Regions from separate parts of the Homo sapiens genome. Here all the other regions are linked to region 7. Evidence: promoter capture Hi-C in 16 types of primary human blood cells and fetal thymus (Javierre and others, 2016). All regions are on one chromosome and are shown on one strand. The core of a region is centred on a gene start or on the middle of the fragment in contact, and the rest is flanking DNA. Distances in the headings are between cores, read along the strand shown.

Region 1 (2,700 bases), core at 122-2,621, 210 kb after region 7:
TTGTGATTGAGAAACCCCACAGAAAATGGGAAGATCCAAGTGCAGACAGTGGAATATGGAAGGGAAGCATTTATTAACTTGGGGGATAGGACCCATGACCATTTCTGCTCTCAGTCAAGGCATACCGAGAAGACCCGTTCACTGGGAGATTAGGGGAGATACACTGAATTCTGCTCATCCAGGCATGGGGAGAAAAGAGAGCTCTAACACTTACGCGGCACATGAAGTCCAGGAGTGTGGCAGTGATGGCTGGGTGGGGCTTCATGGAGTGGTGCATGACCAGGATGGCTGGTTCTGGAGGATGTGAAATTAAAGAGCCCCTCACATCAGTCAGTCTCTCTCTCTCTTTTTTTTTTTTTTTTTTTTTTTTTTGAAACAGAGTCTTGCTCTGTCACCCAGGCTGGAGTGCAAATGGTACGATCTCAGCTCACTGAAGCCTCTGCCTCCCAGGTTCAAGCGAATCTCATGCCTCAACCTCCCCAGCAGCTGGAATTACAGGTGTGCGCCACCACGCCAGGCTAAAGTCAGTCTGTTTCTATCTCCATAAAATGGGATGTCAATATACATGAATGGCTCTGGGAAGTGCTATGTCTATTCCCCCCATTTCCACTGAGCAGACCCAAGAGCAGACAGGCCCCGAAACAGCTTGTAGCCCTCATTTCCCTTCTTGTTCCCAGCATTCAGCTTTGAGAAGGGAAGTAATAGGTGAGGAGAAGCAGGACATGGTACAGCCTTTTCCTTTGCCCATGCCCTCCCCTCCTGAAGACCATGCATCCTGAAGACTGTGGGGAGGAGGTACAGTGATGGCTTAGCCTTATCAAAGCAATTCTCTTTCTAGGTCAAGGGAAAACTGATGAGGAACAACAGAGCTGCTCCCAGATAAACTGCCTCCACTCCACGGTGCCCTGAGATTTATGACTGCTATCACTAAGGAAGGCAGTGGGGGCTTAGGGGGATGGGGAAGTGGAGCCGCCTGGTCTTGGTCACATACCTATGTTCATAATGCTATCCTTGTCTGGACTAAAGAACAGCCAGTCATAAAACAAAGCCAGCTTGGCATTGGAGGCAGCGACATTTGACTGGAAAAGAGAGGGGAGAAACAGAGGGCTAGTTTCATCAATCACCCCCCTCCATTTCAGAGTCCCAAGACAGATTCCAGGCCCCACTTGGCTGTTTCATCTATGAAATTCAGTTCCTAGTGAAACACGGTGAAATGCTAACCCCCCTTGTGTTGTGTATGAGTGAATACTCTGTGGTCTTATGGTCTTAACCAAGAGGACAGAGGACAGGGATTGGGCCAGGTACCCCCCGAACCTTTTTTTTTTTTTTTCCAGACAGGGTCTTGCTCTGTTGCCCAGGCTGTAGTGCAGTGGCATGATCTCAGCTCACTGCAACCTCCACCGCCCAGGCTCGAGAGAGCCTCTCACCTCAGCCTGGGACTACAGGCACGCACCACCTCACCTGGCTCATTTTTCTATTTTTTTGTAGAGATGAGGGTCTTGCCATGTCACCCAGGCTGGAGCGCAGTGGCATGATCACGGCTTACTCCAGCCTTGACCTCTTAGGCTCGGGTGATCCTCCCAGCCTCAGCCTCCTTGGTAGCTGGGACTACAGGAGCACACCACCATGCGTGGCTTTATGTTTTGTTTTGTTTTGTTTTGGTAGAGATGGGTTTTGCCATGTTGCCCAGGCTGGTCTTGAACTCCTGGGCTCAAGTGATCCTCCCACCTCAGCCTCCCAAAGTATTGGGATTATAGGTGAGAGCCACCATGCCTGGCCAGGCCTGGGTTCTTTTCTTTTTGTTGTTGAGACAGGGTCTGACTCTGTCACCCAGGCTGGAGTGCAGTGGCAGGATCTCAGCTCACTGCAACCTCTACCTCCCAGGCTCAAGCGGTCCTCTCACCTCAGCCTGGGACTACAGCCGCACACCAACACACTTGGCTAATTTTTGTATTTTTTTGTAGAGATGGGGTCTTGCCATGTTGCCCAGGCTGGTCTCAAACTCCTGAGCTCAAGCAATCTGCCCACCTCAACCTCCCAAAGTGCTGGGATTACAGGCGTGAGCCACCGTGCTCGGCAGGCCTGGGTTCTTGATACATCCAGCAGTTCATATCTCTGATTCCCATAGGGGACAATGCTTGGACTCAGAAGTCCACTCATCACCCCTGAGCTGAGGCAACAGTCAGACTAGCACCCCTTGGCTGCCCTTTCTGGGCTCTCCAGGCACATTCCTGAAGAAGAGACCCCCACCCCTCCAGGAATAGCCTGTTGTCATATCTGAATCAGCACATTCCAAGGACCCAGTCAAATGGGGGAGGAGGAACCCTGTTGGAAGAGGTCAGGGGGCAGCCAGATGCCAGAGAATGGATAGTTTCCCACCCTAGGCACAGAGAGGAAAACATTTGAAAGGAAATGCCTCCACTGCAGATTCGCTGCATTTACAGAAGGGAAGTAGACAAAGCTGATGCCAAAAAGGCATGGTGGTGAGGGTCTAAAGAATGCAAGCTCTGAATCTGAGAAAGAAACAGTTAAGAGGAATAGCTGTATATGGTTTCTGGAAGCAAAAATGAAAAAGGCAGGGACGCTCCAGAAACCCAGGCTTTTGGGGGTTGGCAGTAATGGGGGAGATGAACCTGTTCAATCTCAAACCCAGATGGAAAATAATGAGTGTAAGTAAATTTCTAGAGACACAAAGGGAAG
Region 2 (2,729 bases), core at 183-2,682, 230 kb after region 7:
TTTACTCTTCCTGGACTACAGAAATTACTTTTCCAAACAGGGATGGGAAAATTGATTACAAATCATTCAGGGTGACAAAGGACCATGTCCCTTCAAAGAAAGCCACAGGAAGCCAGATCCCTACAATCAAGTAATAGCAACGCTTTTCCCCTAGTCTCCAGAGTCTCTTAGTAAAGATAGAATCATAGGTTCAGATGCCAACAACTGCTGGCAGAATGGCTCTGTTCAGAGTAAGCCCTCCATGACAGTACCTTAGAGAGCTGAGTAAATATTTACAATCTCTAGGAGCTCCTGAACTAATTTTTCTAATACTAAGACTACCTGACCATGGTTTCCATGAGAGCAGCAGCAGATGAAATGGGGGAGAAAGGGGGGGAAGGCCTTTCTCTTTCCCAGTATATACCCAAAGCTGGAGACTCAAGCTGGAGGAACCCCTCTAACCTTTCCATTTCCCCTCCCTCAGCCAGGTGGATATAGAGTCTGGTAAAAAGCATACAGTGGCTGGGTGTGGTGGCTCACGCCTGTAGTCCCAACACTCTGGGAGGCTGAGGGGGGCGAATCACGAGGTTAGGAGATCGAGAGCAGCCTGGCCAACATGGTGAAACCCCATCTCTACTAAAAATACAAGAATCAGCCGGGTGTGGTGGCGCACACTTGTAGTCCCAGCTACTCGGGAGGCTGAGGCAGGAGAATCGCTTGAACCCGGGAGGCGAAGGTTGCAGGGAGCTGTCGCGCCACTGCACTCCAGCCTGGGTGACGGAGCGAGAATCCATCTCCCCACAAAAAAAAGCATACAGTAAATACTGCTCCCTATGGGAAGTGGCCTTAAACACCAAATTCCCCATCTTCAGAAAAGGAAGATACAATCTAACTCATAAAATCCCCAAGGACAGCTGGGTGCGGTGGCTCACGCCTGTAATCCCAGCACTTTGGGAAGCTGAGGCAGGAAGATCACGAGGTCACGACTTCGAGAGCAGCCTGGACAACATGGTGAAACCCCATCTCTACTAAAAATACAAAAATTAGCTGGGCGTGGTGGTGCACACCTGCAGTCCCAGCTACTTGGGAGGCTGAGGCAGGAGAATCGCTTGAACCCAGGGGGCGGAGGTTGCAGTGAGCCGAGATCGCACCACTACACTCCAGCCTGGGAGACAGAGCAAGACTGCATCTGCAAAAAAAAAAAAAAAAAAAAAAAAAAAAAAAAGCATTCGGTAAATACTGCTCCCTATGGGAAGTCAGTGGCCTTAAAAGACTAAATTCTGGCCCGGCACGGTGGCTCATTCCTGTAATCCCAGCACTTTAGGAGGCCGAGGTAGGTGGATCATGAGGTCAGGAGTTCGAGACCAGCCTAACATGGTGTACGAGGTCAGGAGTTCAAGACCAGCCTGACCAACATGGTGAAACCCTGTCTCTACTAAAAATACAAAAAAATTAGCCGGGCATGGTGGTGCGTGCCTTTACTCCTAGCTACTCAGGAGGCTGAGGCAGGAAAATCGCTTGAATCTGGGAAGTGCAGGTTGCAGTGAGCCGAGATGATGCCACTGCACTCCAGTCTGGGCAACACAGTGAGACTCCATCTCAAAAAAAAAAAAAGACTAAATTCCTCATTTTCAGAAAAGGAATATACAATCTAACTCATAAAATCCCCAAGGATGGCCAGGCACAGTGACTCACGCCTGTAATCCCAGCACTTTCGGAGGCCGAGGCAGGTGGATCACCTGAGTTCAGGAATTTGAGACCAGCCTAGCCAATGTGGTGAAACCCCGTCTCTACTAAAAATGCAAAAAAAGTAGCTGGGTGTGGTGGTGGGCTTCCGTAATCCCAGCTACTTGGGAGGCTGACGCAGGAGAATCGCTTGAACACAGGAGGCAGAGGTTTCAGTTAGCTGAGATCACGCCATTGCACTACAGCCTGGGTAACAAGAGGGAAACTCCGTTTAAAAAAAAAAAAAAAATCCCCAAGGACTCACGTAGGTGAGGAGTTATTGAACAAGCTGCGTTCAAAGTATTCCACAACCATGAGTCACTGGTATATGAAATTATGATTTGTAAGGGGACAAAAACTAGAAGTGACTCAAAGCCCAGTCCCTGGAGACTCCTCACATATGTATATGAATTATTCCTTGGGGAAAACCAGGTAGAGACATACCTCTAACCAAATGCAACCCTGAGACCTATCCAGCGCTTAAGAGGAAGCTCTGGCCAGGCTCGGTGGCTCATGCCTGTAATCCCAGCAATTTGGAAGGCCAAGGCAGGTGGATCACCTGAGGTCAGGAGTTCGAGACCAGCCTGGCCAACATGGTGAAACCCATCTCTACTAAAAATACAAAAATTAGCCAGGAGTGGTAGTGCCTGTAATCCCAGCTACTCTGGAGGCTGAGGCAGGAGAATCGCTTGAACCCGGGAGGCAGAGGTTGCAGTGAGCCAAGATCGCGCCACTGCACTCCAGCCTGGGCGACAGAGGGAGACTCTGTCTCAAAAAAAAAAAAAAAAAAAAAAAAGTTAAAAAAAGACGCGGGGCCAGGTGCGGTGGCTCAAGTCTGTAATCCCAGCACTTTGGGAGGCCGAGGTGGGCGGATCATGAGGTCAGGAGATAGAGACCATCCTGGCTAACATGGTGAAACCCTGTCTCTACTAAAAATGCAAAAAATTAGCCGGGCGTGGTGGCAGGCGCCTGTAGTCTCAGCTACTCGGGAGGCTGAGGCAGGAGAATGGTGTGAACCCGGGAGG
Region 3 (2,768 bases), core at 15-2,514, 210 kb before region 7:
TTCAAACTCCTGACCTCAAGTGATCTGCCTGCCTCAGCCTCCCAAAGTGCTGAGATTACAGGCATGAGCCACTGCGCCTGTCCTGGGGTGATGTTTCTTAAGCTACTTTCACTCAGAGCCTGCCAAATTTGCTTATTGAGCTGAGGTCTAGTGAGGAAGTCCTCAGAATGGGGAAGTAGAGTTATAGTTAAATATTGATGAAATCATTTCTTCTACTCCCCAGCCTGAAGAAGCTTAATCTTTTGACTTTCTGCTGCTCTGCTGAACTTTGAACCCCTACTGAGGAGGAGACACCTGTGGGAAGGGAGGGGGGTTGCTTGGGCTACCTGTTATCCTCTTAAGGCATTCTGGAATGTGGGTTTTGCAGACTCCTCCCTCCTCTGGAGCGGGAAACTGCACTCTCTGATGGTATCTCATGCTGTTAGTGGGATTGTCACTTAATTATTTTCCTGGTTACTTTGTGTGAACATCCAAGCCACCCTTGTTGGGAAGCTAGATGAGTCTAAAACTGAGACACTGGTGTTCTAGGATCCATCTTTCTTTTCTGCTCTCGGCCTGGAAATTGGTCTTTTATAATGTAGCACCTTGTCAAATTTACTTTCAGTTCTGTATTTCCTTTTTACTTCTGTCTAAATGGAAACAGATGGCAACATAATGTTTAAATGCAGTCTTTTTCCTTATCTCTTTTTTTTTGTGGTAGTGGTGATAAAAATACATGTAAAATTTACCATTTTAACCATTTATAAATGTACAGTTCACCTTATCTGTTTTTAATAACTCTCTCCTAATTGTCCCTGATATTTTTCTCTTTTTAATTTTTTTCTAGTCTAAAAAACTTAAGAGGCTGGGTGCGGTGGCTCACACCTGTAATCCCAGCCCTTTGGGAGGCCTAGGCGGGTGGATCTGAGGTCCACCTGTGGATCTGATGAAACCCCATCTCTACTAAAAATACAAAAAATTAGCTGGGCATGGTGGCGCATGCCTGTAATCCCAGCTACTTGGGAGGCTGAGGCACAAGAATTGCTTCAACCCTGGAGGCGGAGGTGGCAGTGAACCAGGATTGGATCATGCCACTGTACTCCAGCCTGGGCGAGTATCGGCACTGGGGGAGTGAGGGGTCAACTGCGGGAGTGTAAGGTCAGCACACTACCTCTGCCTCAAAAAGAAAAAAAAAAGTAATAACAAAAACCTTAAGAGTACTACCGAGGGAGTGGGCTTTGATTCTGGCCTTAATCCTAAATTCCTAGTCTCTGGAGAGGTTAGAATGCTTGACTGTTGTGTGGTTCTCTTCTATTCGTGGGCCTGGTGGACTAAGCAACCTTTCTTTGGTTGCTTTGCTTTCCTTTCTCTTTCCCCAGTACTAGAACACACACTCACAGGGGAGAGGCAGATAGCCCTTTACCCCTGCTTAGGCTCCGCCTTTGTTTACTGTGGGGCAGATAGCTCTACTCCCTTCCAACTTGCCTCCCCTTTGGTGAAGTTTAAATTCCCCAAGGACACGGTATCTCCCTGGGTAATGCATTTGTGAGCACAGTGAACTCAAATAGTCCTTTACTCACAGGGCTCAAGCCTAACTTTCTGATACTCTTTCATTTGAATTTTATCTGTGGCTTTTATCTAATAAGAGAAACCCCAGTGTGGCAGAAAGCCAGATTTAGGCTAATCCCCTTCTGTCCTTGGCCCTGTTCTGCCTGAGAGTACCATCACACTGTCAGTTTCTTGCCTGGAGGGGTTGACATATTTGGGAAATCTCTTTGGAGTGGAGGATAGCCGAAGGTGTTGTCAGCCATCTGGTAATGTGACTGAGTTGCTGGGGCATTCTACTCTTTCCCCAATCCCTCACCCAGGATCTTTGCTTCCTGGGCAGTGGAGAATCCTATTATTACTTGAAGGGAAGAACCACAGAGTACTGTATATCCTCCACACTGGGCAGAGATAGGTCAGCTGAAACACCAAAACCGCATCTGGATGGGCATGCTAAAACCTAAGATGATTAGGAAAGTGCAGAGCTTAACGTTTCCCAGGGCCACAGGTAGCCTGGTCTGCAAAAAGTAGGCCTGTTCAATCTCTTGGTACCCATTGGTATTATTTGACCTGAAAGGGACAGGCACTGTGCATAGACTCATGAGGGAAAAGTCAGCTTGTCTTCCTTGTTCCTTTAAACAAAGTATCAGATCTTGATTCTGCAGGCTTTTGTTTCATTGTAAAGAGAACTGATCCTCTGTGCTAGGAGAAAAGAGAAAGGCAAGGTCCCATTCCCTACCACTCCACCCTGGAGGGGGTCTCTGAAGCTTTTTCTAGGACTCCCATCTCAGGTTCTGCTTTTGATACAGGCTTGTTCATGTGTGCATGCTCTTAGGAGGGCACCAAGATGTGTTTTCCCCCTCTCCCTTTTCAGCCTTGCTAAGAATTCTATTGTAAATGCTGATTTGTGGGAGAAACTGCCTGAGCCAGCTTGCTGTCATGGCAACTGTACACCCCCGCCCCATAGCCTGTTATCTTCTACTCCAGTTTGGGTAACTACTGGTGAGCTGCATGATGTCTTACATTTCATGAGCTTCCTCTAAATCTAGTTGTATTTTTCGTCTGAGGGGGGTAAGTCATTTTACTAGCAGTGTCTCCTAGGTCTTGCCTGATAGCCTGACTTGCTCTTGATCCATGGCCTTGTTGGGTTTGTGAGGAGAAATGTGTGTTGTTACAGAGAACATCTATTTTTCTGGAAGAGGCAGAAGCAGAGAATACTTGTCTTTGTGGTGTTTTGAGTAGTG
Region 4 (2,752 bases), core at 29-2,528, 130 kb after region 7:
GGTTATTGAATTTTGTTGTTTTGTCATATACTATCAGTGCACGTGAATATATCTCAAAACTTAGAATACTGTAGTATATCAACTTAAATGTGTATATCTTGCTATGTGTACTTAAGAGACAGGGTCTTGCTCTGTCACCCAGGCTGGAGTAGAGTGGCGCAATCATAGCTCACTGCAGCCTCAAACTCCTGGGCTCAAATGATCTTCCCACTTCAGTCACCATGCCTTTTTTTTTTAACTTTTTTAGGCTGGGTGCAGTGGCTCACGCCTGTAATCCCAGCACTTTGGGAGGCCAAGGTGGGCGGATCACTTGAGGTCAGGAGTTCAAGACTAGCCTGGCCAACATGGAGAAACCTCGTCTCTACTAAAAATACAAAAATTAGCCGAGTATGGTGGCGAACACCTGTAATCTCAGCTACTTGGAAGGCTGAGGCATGAGAATCACTTGAACCTGGGAGGCTTGCAGTGAGCCGAGGCTGTGCCACTGCACTCCAGCCTGGGTGACAGACTGTCTAAAAAAAAAAAAAAAAAAACAAATTTTTTTTTAGAGATGAGTCTCCCAGGATGGTCTCAAACTCTCAGCCTCCAATGATCCTCTTGTGTCACTGGGATTACACACACAAGCCACTGCCTTACTGTGTACTTTTCTAAAGTATAGACATACCTCAGAGATTTTGTATGTTCCATTCCAGACCACCACAATAAAGCAAATATTGCAATAAAGCAAGTCACACAAATTTTTTGGTTTCCCAGTGTATATAAAAGTTATGTTTAGGCCAGACGCAGTGGCTCACGCCTGTAATCCAAGCACTCTGGAAGGCTGAGGCGGGAGGATTGCTTGAAGTCAGGAGTTTGAGACCAGCCTGGTCAACATGGTGAAACCTTGTCTCTACTAAAAATACAAAAAGTAGCTGGGCATGGTGGTACGCGCCTGTAATCCCAGCTACTCAGGAGGCTGAGGCAGTAGAATCGCTTGAACTCAGGAGGCAGAGGTTGTAATGAACCGAGATCACGCCACTCCACTCCAGCCTGGACGACAGAGCAAGAGTCTGTCTCAAAAAAATAATAATAATAATAAAATAAAAGTTATGTTTACATTATGCTGTAGTCTATTAAGTGCAATAGGATTATGTCTAAGAAAACAATGAATACATCTTAAATAAAAAACACTTTCTTGCTAAAAAGTACTAACAATCATCTGAGCCTTCAGCAAGTCATTATCTTTTAGCTGGTAGAGTGTCTTGCCTCCATGTGGATGACTGCTCACCCATTAGTGTGGTGGTTGCTGAAGGTTGGGGTAACCTGGCAATTTTTTTTTTTTTTTGAGATTACAGGCATGAGCCACTGCGCCTGCCCAACCTGGCAGTTTCTTAAAATAAGATGATGAAGTTTGCCACATGGATTGACTCTCCTTTCATGAAAGATTTTCATATAGCATGCGGTACTGTTTAATACCATTTTATCCACAGTAGAACTGCTTTCAACATTGGTGTCATTTCTTTCAAACCCTGCTGCTTTGTCAACTCAAGTTTATGGAATATTCTAAATCTTCTGGTGTCATTTCAACAGTGTTCACAGCATCTTACCAGGAGTAGATTCCATCTCAAGAAACCACTTTCTTTGCTCATCCATAAGAAGCAACTCCTTATCCATTCAAATTTTTGTTTTTTGTTTGTTTTTTAAAGAGACTCAGTTGTGGTCTGTCACCCAAGCTGGAGTGCAGTGGCATGATCGTAGCTCATTGTAGCCTCAAACTCCTGGGCTCATGCGATCCCCTCACCTCACTCTCCTGAGTGAGGTGCATGCCACCGTGCCCAACTAATTTTTTTTTTTATTTTCTGTAGAGATAGGGTCTCACTTTGTTGTCCAGGTTGGTCTCGAACTCCTGGGCTCAAGTGATCCTCCTGTCTCAGCCTCCCAAAGTGCTGGGATTACAGTGCTGGGATCCCAGCTGTGCCTTGCCCAGGCTCCCTTCTAATTGTAGTTTTCTTGCTGTTTCTACCACTTTTGCAGTCATTTCCTCCATTGAAACCTTGAACCTGTCAAAGGTCATGTATGAAAGTTATAATCAACTTCTTTCAAATTCCTGTTAGTGTTGATAGTTTTAGGCCGGGCGTGGTGGCTCATGCCTGTAATCCCAGCAATTTGGGAAGCCGAGGCAGGCAGATCACCTGAGGTCGGGAGTGCGAGACCAGCCTGACCAACATGGAGAAACCCTTTCTCTACTAAAAATACAAAATTAGCTGGGCCTGGGGTGGCACATGCCTGTAATCCCAGCTACTCGGGAGACTGAGGCAGGAGAATTGCTTGAACCTGGAAGGTGGAGGTGAGCTGAGATCGCACCATTGCACTCCAGCCTGGGCAACAAGAGCAAAACTCCGTCTTAAAAAAAAGAAAAAGAAAAGAAAAATGTTAATAGTTTTACTTCCTCCTGCAATGGTAAATAATTTCCAGGAGGTTTTTTAAATTTTTATTTTTATAGAGACAGGGTCTTGGCTGGGCGTGGTGGTCATGCCTGTAATCCCAGCACTTTGGGAGGCTGAGGTGGGCGGATCACGAGGTCAGGAGTTCGAGACCATCCTGGCTGACACGGTGAAACCCCATCTCTATAGCAAAAATACAAAAAATTAGCTGGGCGTGGTGGTGGGCGTTTGTAATCCCAGCTGCACGGAAGGCTGAGGCAGGAGAATGGCATGAACCCAGGAGGTGGAGGTTGCAGTGAACTGAGGTTGTGCCACTGCACTCCAGACTG
Region 5 (2,761 bases), core at 72-2,571, 240 kb before region 7:
TTCAGGGTTAAAGCACGAATTGGGAGCTCTCAGCGACATCACCAGTCAGCAGCCAAAGACCTAACTCAGTCCCCTGAGGTCTCCCCAACAACCATCCAGGTGACATACCTCCCCTCCAGTCAGAAGAGTAAACGTGCCAAGCACTTCCTTGAATTGAAGAGCTTTAAGGATAACTATAACACATTGGAGAGTACTCTGTGACGGAGCTGAAGGACTCTTGCCGTAGATTAAGCCAGTCAGTTGCAATGTGCAAGACAGGCTGCTTGCCGGGCCGCCCTCGGAACATCTGGCCCAGCAGGCCCAGACTGTATCCATCCAAGTTCCCGTTGTATCCAGAGTTCTTAGAGCTTGTGTCTAAAGGGTAATTCCCCAACCCTTCCTTATGAGCATTTTTAGAACATTGGCTAAGACTATTTTCCCCCAGTAGCGCTTTTTTCTGGATTTGCATTCAGGTGTTATTCTTAATGTTTCTGTCAAAGCTTCTTAAAAATCTTCACTTGGTTTCAGCCATAGTTCACCTTCCCTGTTCCAGGTTTATTTAATTCCAAAGGTGAGAGTTGGAGTGAGATGTCTTCCATATCTATACCTTTGTGCACAGTTGAATGGGAACTGTTTGGGTTTAGGGCATCTTAGAGTTGATTGATGGAAAAAGCAGACAGGAACTGGTGGGAGGTCAAGTGGGGAAGTTGGTGAATGTGGAATAACTTACCTTTGTGCTCCACTTAAACCAGATGTGTTGCAGCTTTCCTGACATGCAAGGATCTACTTTAATTCCACACTCTCATTAATAAATTGAATAAAAGGGAATGTTTTGGCACCTGATATAATCTGCCAGGCTATGTGACAGTAGGAAGGAATGGTTTCCCCTAACAAGCCCAATGCACTGGTCTGACTTTATAAATTATTTAATAAAATGAACTATTATCAAATAAAACGTATGAATCAGTCCTTTATAGTTGTCTTTTAATAAAACAGGCATTTGATAATGTTATCTGCACATTTCTAACAGGGTATAGGGCATGAGGATTTGCCTCCAGAGAATTGGTGGGACTGTGTGCATACCCTGGACCTACGACCATACACATACTCCTTGGGACCCTAGCACAAGAAATCCTAAAATCAGGACTGTGGCCCTTGCTCATAGATGCCTGTGTCACCAACAGAAGGCTGCAGAACAAGGATTCTCTCAAGGTTTCTGGGGCAACAGGCCAGGTGGCCAATCAACTCCTAGGCCCAGGGTTATTGTTGGAGGTGTAAATGTTACTATGACTACTGAAACCTTGGTTACTGAACTAAACAGAGGAGCCTGTCAGTCTCCTCAGACTGTATCAAGCAAATCTATAGACATGTCTGTGGAAAAGATGACAAAAGTAGAAGAGGTATGCAGAGTTGGAAGGAGGGGCTGGGTTGAAGTTTGATGAAGTTTCCAGATCAATTTACTATAAGTGCATCTTTTACTGGGAAAGGCTTTTGATGTAACAAGGGTATAATGTAGTTAGTAACAGGAGTGGGAGGCTGTGTCTAGTACACAGTAGGTATTCAAATATGTGTTCTATCCAACCCCTGCGTGTTTTCTTTGATCCATTCTGAAAGTAGAGCTTTCCTCTCCCTATTTCCCCCCAGGAAATTGCTTTCTCAAAAAGGTCTATGTGGCTGGGTGCGGTGACTCACGCCTGTAATCCTATCACTTTGGGAGGCTGAGGTGGGCGGATCACCTGAGGTCAGGAGTTCGAGACTAGCCTGACCAACATGGAGAAACCCCATCTCTACTAAAAATACAAAATTAGCCCGGCATGGTGGTGCATTCCTATAATCTCAGCTACTCGGAGGCTGAGGCAGGAGAATCGCTTGAACCCGGGAGGCGGAGATTGCGGTGAGCCGAGATCACGCCACTGCACTCTGGCCTGGGCAACAAGAGCAAAACTCTGTCTCAAAAAAAAAAAAGGTCTATGTCTCTCATTAGAATAGAGGTTCTGGAGACTGAGGCAGATCAACAGAACTACCTTTTCTTGCAGAGTTTTCAAAAGGCCATGGGACTTAAGAAGACGGTCGACAGGTAATCTGCTTCTATCCCCTCCCTTTACCTTTGAGCTTGACCTTTCCACTCTGCTGTCTTCCCTGAGCCACCTCCCAACTCTGCTGCATCTCTTTAGGGGCTCATCAAGAGGAAAACAGATGCGGAAGGGGTGAGAAGCAGCCTTGTCCTCAAAGCAAATGAGATCAGCCTCTTAGTGCCTACTAGGTTAGGTGATATAGATTGGTTTTTATTGTCCCCTGCCTCATTCTCTGGAGAAAAATTGAAGCATGTTTTTATTTTCTTTTTTTATCAAGAATTCAAGTATTTGTTGCCTGGCTTTGTACTAATTATGTGGTTGGTAGTGCAGTATTTGTTGAACCAGTGAATGAGAAGATTCACAAGACTGGGCTACGTATCCTTTTCACCCTGATGAACTTTTGAAAAAACTGATGCAGCCGGGCGCGGTGGCTCACGCCTGTAATCCTAGCACTTTGGGAGGCTGAGGCAGGAGGATTGCCTGAGCTCAGGAGTTCAAGACCAGCCTAGGCAACATGGTGAAACCCTGTCTCTACTAAAATACAAAAGAAGTTAGCCAGGCATGGTAGTGTGCGCCTGTAGTCCCAGCTACTCGGGAGGCTGAGGCAGGAGAATTGCTTGAACTTAGGATGCGGAGGGTGCAGTGAGCCAAGATCGCACCACTGCACTCCAGCACTCCAGCCTGGGTGACAGAGCAAGACTCCGTCT
Region 6 (2,700 bases), core at 8-2,507, 160 kb after region 7:
TTCACCCCTCACTGGAAGCAAGAAAAGAATGGTAAGATTCTATGTGAGCAGTGTATGACCTCCAACCAGAAAAAGGCTCTAAAAGCTGAACACACCAACCGGCTGAAAAATGCATTTGTGAAAGCCCTACAGCAGGAACAGGTAAGAATTCTGACTGCTCACTGGCCACCTGTCCCAGTTTGTTTTTTCCAAAGGGTCGCGCCTTCTAGTTTGCAGGAGTGGTTCATGTGATCCCTACAGGTCCACAGGTTCCCTTTTTGTCTCCTTATCATTGTGTCCTATTTCCATTTGAGCGAGTATTCTGATTAAGAACATGGTAAAATATAATGGCTGAGGTTAACAGAAAGGGACAGAAAGCTTGGGACTCTTGGCTTTTCCATAGCACTCTATTCTCATCTTCATTTTTTCCTAAAACAAATAATAGATTTTGGTGGGAGGAATTTATATTTGTGCTATAAATCTCTTTGAAACAGTTATTTGCAGTGCGTGTTTGATAAGAAATGACGAAAGAAAGAGTGAATTATGAAGTAGCCCAGTGAAGAGTAGTGGTTCTAGAGTATGTGAACATCTCATGTAGCAGTTATAGGATGAGAATATCTTAGAGAAGGAAAAATGTGTTGGGAAACTCAGATCCTTTTCTTCCTATTTCCCACTCCACCCATCAGAGTCCCTTGTTTGAGTAGCATCATGGACTTTTTGGAAGATCGGGTAGGCAGGAGTCAAAAATAAAACCCCATTTATGCTCTAGGACTGGTGGTAAAAAATAAATAAATAAAAATTTTTAAAAAGAGAAAAGAAAAAGTGATAAAATAAAACCCCAGTAATTCATCAGCCTTAATTATATCAGTTGGTTCATCACCTCCAGCCAACTTCTTAGAGCCAGCTTTCCTGGAGAAAGAGAGGAGGATCCCTTGATCATTGAAGCAAGTTAGCTGCTTATACCCAGAAATCTCAGTGTACCACCCCCACCAAACTCTTTTGCCTTTTCCATATTCCACCAACTAGCCAACAACATTAGAGGTAAGAACACCTCCAGGTTTTCTGGTTAGGAAATTGGGTGGGCCAGGTGCAGTGATTCATGCCTGTAATCCCAGCACTTTGGGGAGGCTAAGGTGAGAGGATTGCTTGAGCCCAGGAGTGCCAGACCAGCCTGGGCAACAAAGTCAGATTGTGTCTCTGTTTAAAAAAAAAAAAAAAAAAGGAAATTGGGTATTGGGTGCTGTCCTGCTCAATCACCTGATGTGATGACTCCCAACAGGAAATTGAACAGCGATTACAGCAGCAGGCAGCCCTCTCCCCCACTACGGCTCCAGCTGTGTCCAGTGTCAGTAAACAAGAGACCATCATGAGACATCATACGCTTCGGCAGGTAAGGAACTTTTTGCCTGATCCTGATTTCTTTAGAAGATTTATCAGCCATTTATCACAATTTGTCCTTTCTATTGTGGGAAATCATAGTCTTCTTCTGTACTCCCTTATCTTTGCCCCCGCTTAACATTCTATCATATCAAAGTTGTATCCACTGTCTCCTCATCATTGCAGGCTCCACAGCCCCAGAGCAGCCTCCAGCGTGGCATACCCACATCTGCCCGCTCCATGCTTTCAAACTTTGCACAGGCACCCCAGTTGTCTGTGCCAGGTGGCCTCCTTGGTATGCCAGGTAAGAAGGATTAATCTGAAAATGTTTCTCATGGGTCAGCTGTTAGTTAGTATACAGTTCTGTAGCAGCCCCTTTAAGGGAATTGTTCCTTTACTTTCTGTTCTTTCTTTAGGGCATACACTCTCACTCTTCTGTTACTCAGCAAATGTTTGCTAAATTCATATTAAGTGCCACCCACAATGCACTAGGGTTTTGGTGGTGAAAATGACCCAGATCCTACCATTATCAATTTAACTTTTAATATCCCTTCAGTAGACATGTGGTTATTGATCTCTTTTGGCCGGGACAGCAGGGTTAACTGTTCTGTTTGAATGATCCAGGGATGCTTCTGCACAATCTGCAGCCTCAAAATCAAAGCTGATTTAATGATTCTATCTCTCTGTCTTATTCATCTTCCTCTCACCACTGTTTCACTTGTCTCTCCCATACCATCAGAAGCATGTTCATTATTCTTGGTAGGACCGAAATTTCAGGAAGTCCCCTTTTCCTAAAGCTTAGGAATATGAGTGGGGATTGAAATAAAGTTGCTGTGCAGGGCGCGGTGGCTCACACCTGTAATCCCAGCACTTTGAGAGGCCGAGGCAGGCGAATCACTTGAGATCAGGAGTTCAAGACCAGGCTGACCAACATGGTGAAACCCTGTCTCTACTAAAAATACAAAAAATTGGCTGGGCGTGGTGGCTCATGCCTATAATCCCAGCACTTTGGGAGGCCAAAGCGAGTGGATTACCTGAGGTCAGGAGTTCAAGACCACCCTGGCCAACATGATGAAACCCCATCTCTACTGAAAATACAAAAAATTAGCCCGGCGTGGTGGCTGGTGCCTGTAATCCCAGCTACTCGGGAGGCTGAGGCAGGAGAATCGCTTGAACTTGGGAGGTGGGGCTTGCAGTGAGCTGAGATTGTGCCACTGCACCTCCAGCCTGGGCAACGAGCGAAATTCTGTCTCAGATAAATAAGCAAACAAAATTAATTGGCTGGGTGCAGTGGGTCATGCCTGTAATCCCAGCACTTTGGGAGGCTGAGGCCGTTGGATCATT
Region 7 (2,700 bases), core at 1-2,500:
ATTTGGCCCAGTTTCCCCCTGCATCCTCTCCAGGGCCCCTGCCTCATAGACAACCTCATAGAGCATAGGAGAACTGGTTGCCCTGGGGGCAGGGGGACTGTCTGGATGGCAGGGGTCCTCAGAGATGCCACTGTCACTGCCAGGAGATGCTTCTGAGCAGTACACCTCATTGGGATCAATGAAAAGCTTCAAGAAATCTTCAGGCTCACTCTCTTGAAGGCCCTACAGTAGGAAAAGGTTATATATATGTGCAGGGAAGAATTTTGGAAGTCCTCCCTGACTTATGCTTCATTTTCAGTCCTTTCACTTCTTGGGCATGGAGACAGTTATTATACAACTTACGTCTATTTTGGGGGTGGTCTGTTTTCAGACCTGTCTCCAAGTGGGAGCTGAAGCCTCTTATCACAGAGTTGTGTCTCAACCCCACCCCCACTCCCACTCGTCACACTCACACAGCCACGGTCCCCACCGGACTTCCAGCCTTGCAGTCCCTGTTCCTGTAGCCTAGTTACCGGAACCTCTGGAGGGGGGCAGTGGAGTCCCAGCTCCAGGACGGATCCTGTCGAGAAGATATCCTCTGGGGGCTCCAGCCACGCGTCCAGCAGGTCAGGGATTCCGAGATCCATGCTTCTGCAGGAAGGCGTGTGGGACGGAGGGTTGCAGAAACGGAATGATGGCTGCTTACTACCCCCTACAGTTTCTGGGCTCCTCTGCTCCCTTTTCCATTATCCCCGCCCCCCCACTCCTTCCTCACTAGCAAGCCCCCTCACCTGTCCCCTCGATATTTCACCTTCAGCCCTATCCCTCAGGTTTAGACAAAGAGGCCCCCCCCAAGCATTACCTGTTCTGAAGAGCCCAGCCCTGTCAAGCCAGCATAGCCCGTTGACCTCCCCAAACACTACACCTTTTCTTTCTTCCAGGATCTCGTATCCTGGACCTGCCAGCCAAACCCCGCCCCCAGCCTTACACTACAAAAGTGGATGCCACCTTGCCAGGAGCCACGGTAGGGCCGCTGTATCTGGGAGTAGGGGACTAAGAGTCTGAGGGTCCACAAACGGAATTTAAGAAGTAGGTAGCCGCGCCCTTTCTGCTGCAGTTTTCTCTTAGCTATAGTAAATCTTCCTGAGGGTTTGGTGTCTCCTAGCTGAAGAACAGAAAAGGCTGTGACTGGAGCACAGGACTCCTGAATGCCTGTTCTGTAGCCCTCGCTTTTGCAAGAGGGAGATCATGGCAGGGTTGTAAACAAAGGCGGAAAGAGTCAAGAGACCTGCGAATTTACTAGGGCATCCCCTCGCCCACCGCGTGGCGCTCTTCCCAAAGCTGAGTCCTGATTGGAAGCTGAAGACTTAGGTTTCGGAGGGGCAGGACATCGAGCCAATGGCACACTACCCTCTCAAGGCCGCCTCTTCCGTAACTGGTCGGAGACAGTTTGGCTGTTCAGGAGAGTCAGGCCAATGGGGCCGCAGTTCTTTCTTTTTTTTTTCTTTATTCTTATTTTTGGAGACAGGGTCTCGCTCTGTTGCCCAGGCTGGAGTGCGGTGGTGCGATCACGGTTCCATGCAGCCCCCGACCTCCCGGGCTCAGGTGATTCTCCCGCCTCAGCACCGCGAGCAGCTAGGACCACAGGCGCGAGCCACTGCGTCCGGCCGGCGGGACTTATTTGTCAGGCGGGGATTGGGTTCCGCCAGCCTAAAGGGAGGGGTAAGCGCCAGAATATGAATCGCCGGGAAGCTGGGAGAAAGCTCCGGGAAACCCTGAGCAGCCAGGTTTGTCTTCGCGCGCCACGTGACTCGGAAGCTCCGGTTTCACCCAGGCGGGGAGTCAACAGCCCGCTGACCCCAGTGGAGCGGTGATCCTCGCTCGGCAGGCGGCAGGAGCGCGATGGCGGGTTTCCCCGTCCGCAAGCCGAGCAGTGTGGCGTTAATGGAGAACAGCAGCTGTGCGCACACGCTCGCTGCACGCTGCTCATTCACGGAGGGACACGGGGCAGGAAAACTGCAACAAGTTAAAAAGCCTTTTGCGTTTGTTGTCTTATTGTTTGCATACAGTTACCGGGAACATTATGTCCCACACTTGTATAATTTACAAAACGTTTTCATAAAAATTGTTCTCTTCCTTAATCCATAACAGTTCTGAGGCACACACGGCGGGTAATATTTTGCAAATTTTACCTATGAGGAGGCAGATCCATGACTAGAAAGTAGTAATACCAAAACTCAGGGTTGATTGATTATTTTTATTTTTTTGCCTTGGTCTAATGTCTGATGGTCCAGGAATTCACTTCAAGTAAAACAATGGAGGTAAACTGATACAGGTATGGTTTTCAGTAGTATTTCAGAAAAGGGTAGCTGGGTGAGTAAAACAGTAGTTTGGAGTGTGAATCCCAGAACTCAAACTGCTACTAATTATCCTTATGAAGATTTGAACGGGCTAAGGGTAAAAACGGGAACAGGGTCTAGTCAGGCATTTCCATGTTACTCATATAATTCTTACAGCAGATGGAGCTGACAAGTTTGTTTGTTTGTTTTTCTTTTGCTCTGTGGCCCAGGCTGGAGTGCAGAGGCTCGATCTCGGCTCACTGCAAGCTCCGCCTCCCGGGTTCACGCCATTCTCCTGCCTCAGCCTCCCTAGTAGCTGGGACTACAGGCGCCCAGCTAATTTTTTTGTATTTTTAGTAGAGACAGGGTTTCACCGTGTTAG

What was found. The method cuts DNA at HindIII sites, captures the fragments that hold promoters and counts their contacts. A CHiCAGO score of 5 or more calls a contact.
Region 1: a fragment that was not itself captured here is called in contact with the fragment with the promoter of CREB3L4 in region 7 in 5 of 17 cell types (total B cells, M2 macrophages, monocytes and 2 more); the score reaches 9.6 in total B cells.
Region 2: a fragment that was not itself captured here is called in contact with the fragment with the promoter of CREB3L4 in region 7 in 13 of 17 cell types (total B cells, M0 macrophages, naive B cells and 10 more); the score reaches 11.1 in total B cells.
Region 3: a contact is called between a fragment that was not itself captured here and the fragment with the promoter of CREB3L4 in region 7, in 6 of 17 cell types (M0 macrophages, erythroblasts, total B cells and 3 more). The highest score is 7.7, in M0 macrophages.
Region 4: a contact is called between a fragment that was not itself captured here and the fragment with the promoter of CREB3L4 in region 7, in 12 of 17 cell types (total B cells, monocytes, naive CD8 T cells and 9 more). The highest score is 10.7, in total B cells.
Region 5: the fragment with the promoter of CFAP141 here is called in contact with the fragment with the promoter of CREB3L4 in region 7 in 4 of 17 cell types (erythroblasts, M0 macrophages, megakaryocytes and 1 more); the score reaches 6.9 in erythroblasts.
Region 6: a contact is called between a fragment that was not itself captured here and the fragment with the promoter of CREB3L4 in region 7, in 17 of 17 cell types (total B cells, total CD8 T cells, naive B cells and 14 more). The highest score is 19.0, in total B cells.

The regions. Positions count from the first base shown.
Region 1 is chr1:153,757,905-153,760,604 of GRCh38, reverse strand. INTS3 (integrator complex subunit 3) reads right to left here. Exons shown (of 30, transcript NM_023015.5): 11 at 992-1,079; 12 at 215-294. Among named protein-coding and RNA genes, the nearest start is that of SLC27A3, 16 kb to the left of the region's middle. The HindIII fragment of the contact is 8,511 bases long and covers 1-2,700 here.
Region 2 is chr1:153,731,673-153,734,401 of GRCh38, reverse strand. All of the region lies in intron 1 of INTS3 (integrator complex subunit 3), which reads right to left. Among named protein-coding and RNA genes, the nearest start is that of INTS3, 5.0 kb to the right of the region's middle. RefSeq lists an enhancer at 156-655. The HindIII fragment of the contact is 3,671 bases long and covers 1-2,729 here.
Region 3 is chr1:154,177,941-154,180,708 of GRCh38, reverse strand. All of the region lies in intron 2 of TPM3 (tropomyosin 3), which reads left to right. Among named protein-coding and RNA genes, the nearest start is that of TPM3, 13 kb to the left of the region's middle. RefSeq lists an enhancer at 1-516. The HindIII fragment of the contact is 2,058 bases long and covers 236-2,293 here.
Region 4 is chr1:153,834,045-153,836,796 of GRCh38, reverse strand. The region is part of intron 1 of GATAD2B (GATA zinc finger domain containing 2B); the gene reads left to right. Among named protein-coding and RNA genes, the nearest start is that of SLC27A3, 60 kb to the right of the region's middle. The HindIII fragment of the contact is 5,159 bases long and covers 1-2,752 here.
Region 5 is chr1:154,204,893-154,207,653 of GRCh38, reverse strand. CFAP141 (cilia and flagella associated protein 141) reads left to right here and starts at 1,321. Exons shown (of 4, transcript NM_001010979.3): 1 at 1,321-1,379; 2 at 2,016-2,056. The coding sequence starts at 1,347. LTAP1 (lipid transport auxiliary protein 1) reads left to right here. Exons shown (of 7, transcript NM_001098616.3): 7 at 6-934. The coding sequence ends at 201. The HindIII fragment of the contact is 7,725 bases long and covers 482-2,761 here.
Region 6 is chr1:153,810,691-153,813,390 of GRCh38, reverse strand. It overlaps GATAD2B (GATA zinc finger domain containing 2B), which reads left to right. Exons shown (of 11, transcript NM_020699.4): 8 at 1-141; 9 at 1,259-1,369; 10 at 1,543-1,660. Among named protein-coding and RNA genes, the nearest start is that of SLC27A3, 37 kb to the right of the region's middle. The HindIII fragment of the contact is 1,796 bases long and covers 360-2,155 here.
Region 7 is chr1:153,966,452-153,969,151 of GRCh38, reverse strand. CREB3L4 (cAMP responsive element binding protein 3 like 4) reads right to left here and starts at 1,250. Exons shown (of 10, transcript NM_001255978.2): 1 at 988-1,250; 2 at 453-630; 3 at 1-222. The coding sequence starts at 626. It also overlaps a transcript of SLC39A1 not described here. RefSeq lists enhancers at 984-1,103, 1,134-1,243, 1,454-1,673, 1,108-1,964 and a silencer at 992-1,493. The HindIII fragment of the contact is 4,469 bases long and covers 189-2,700 here.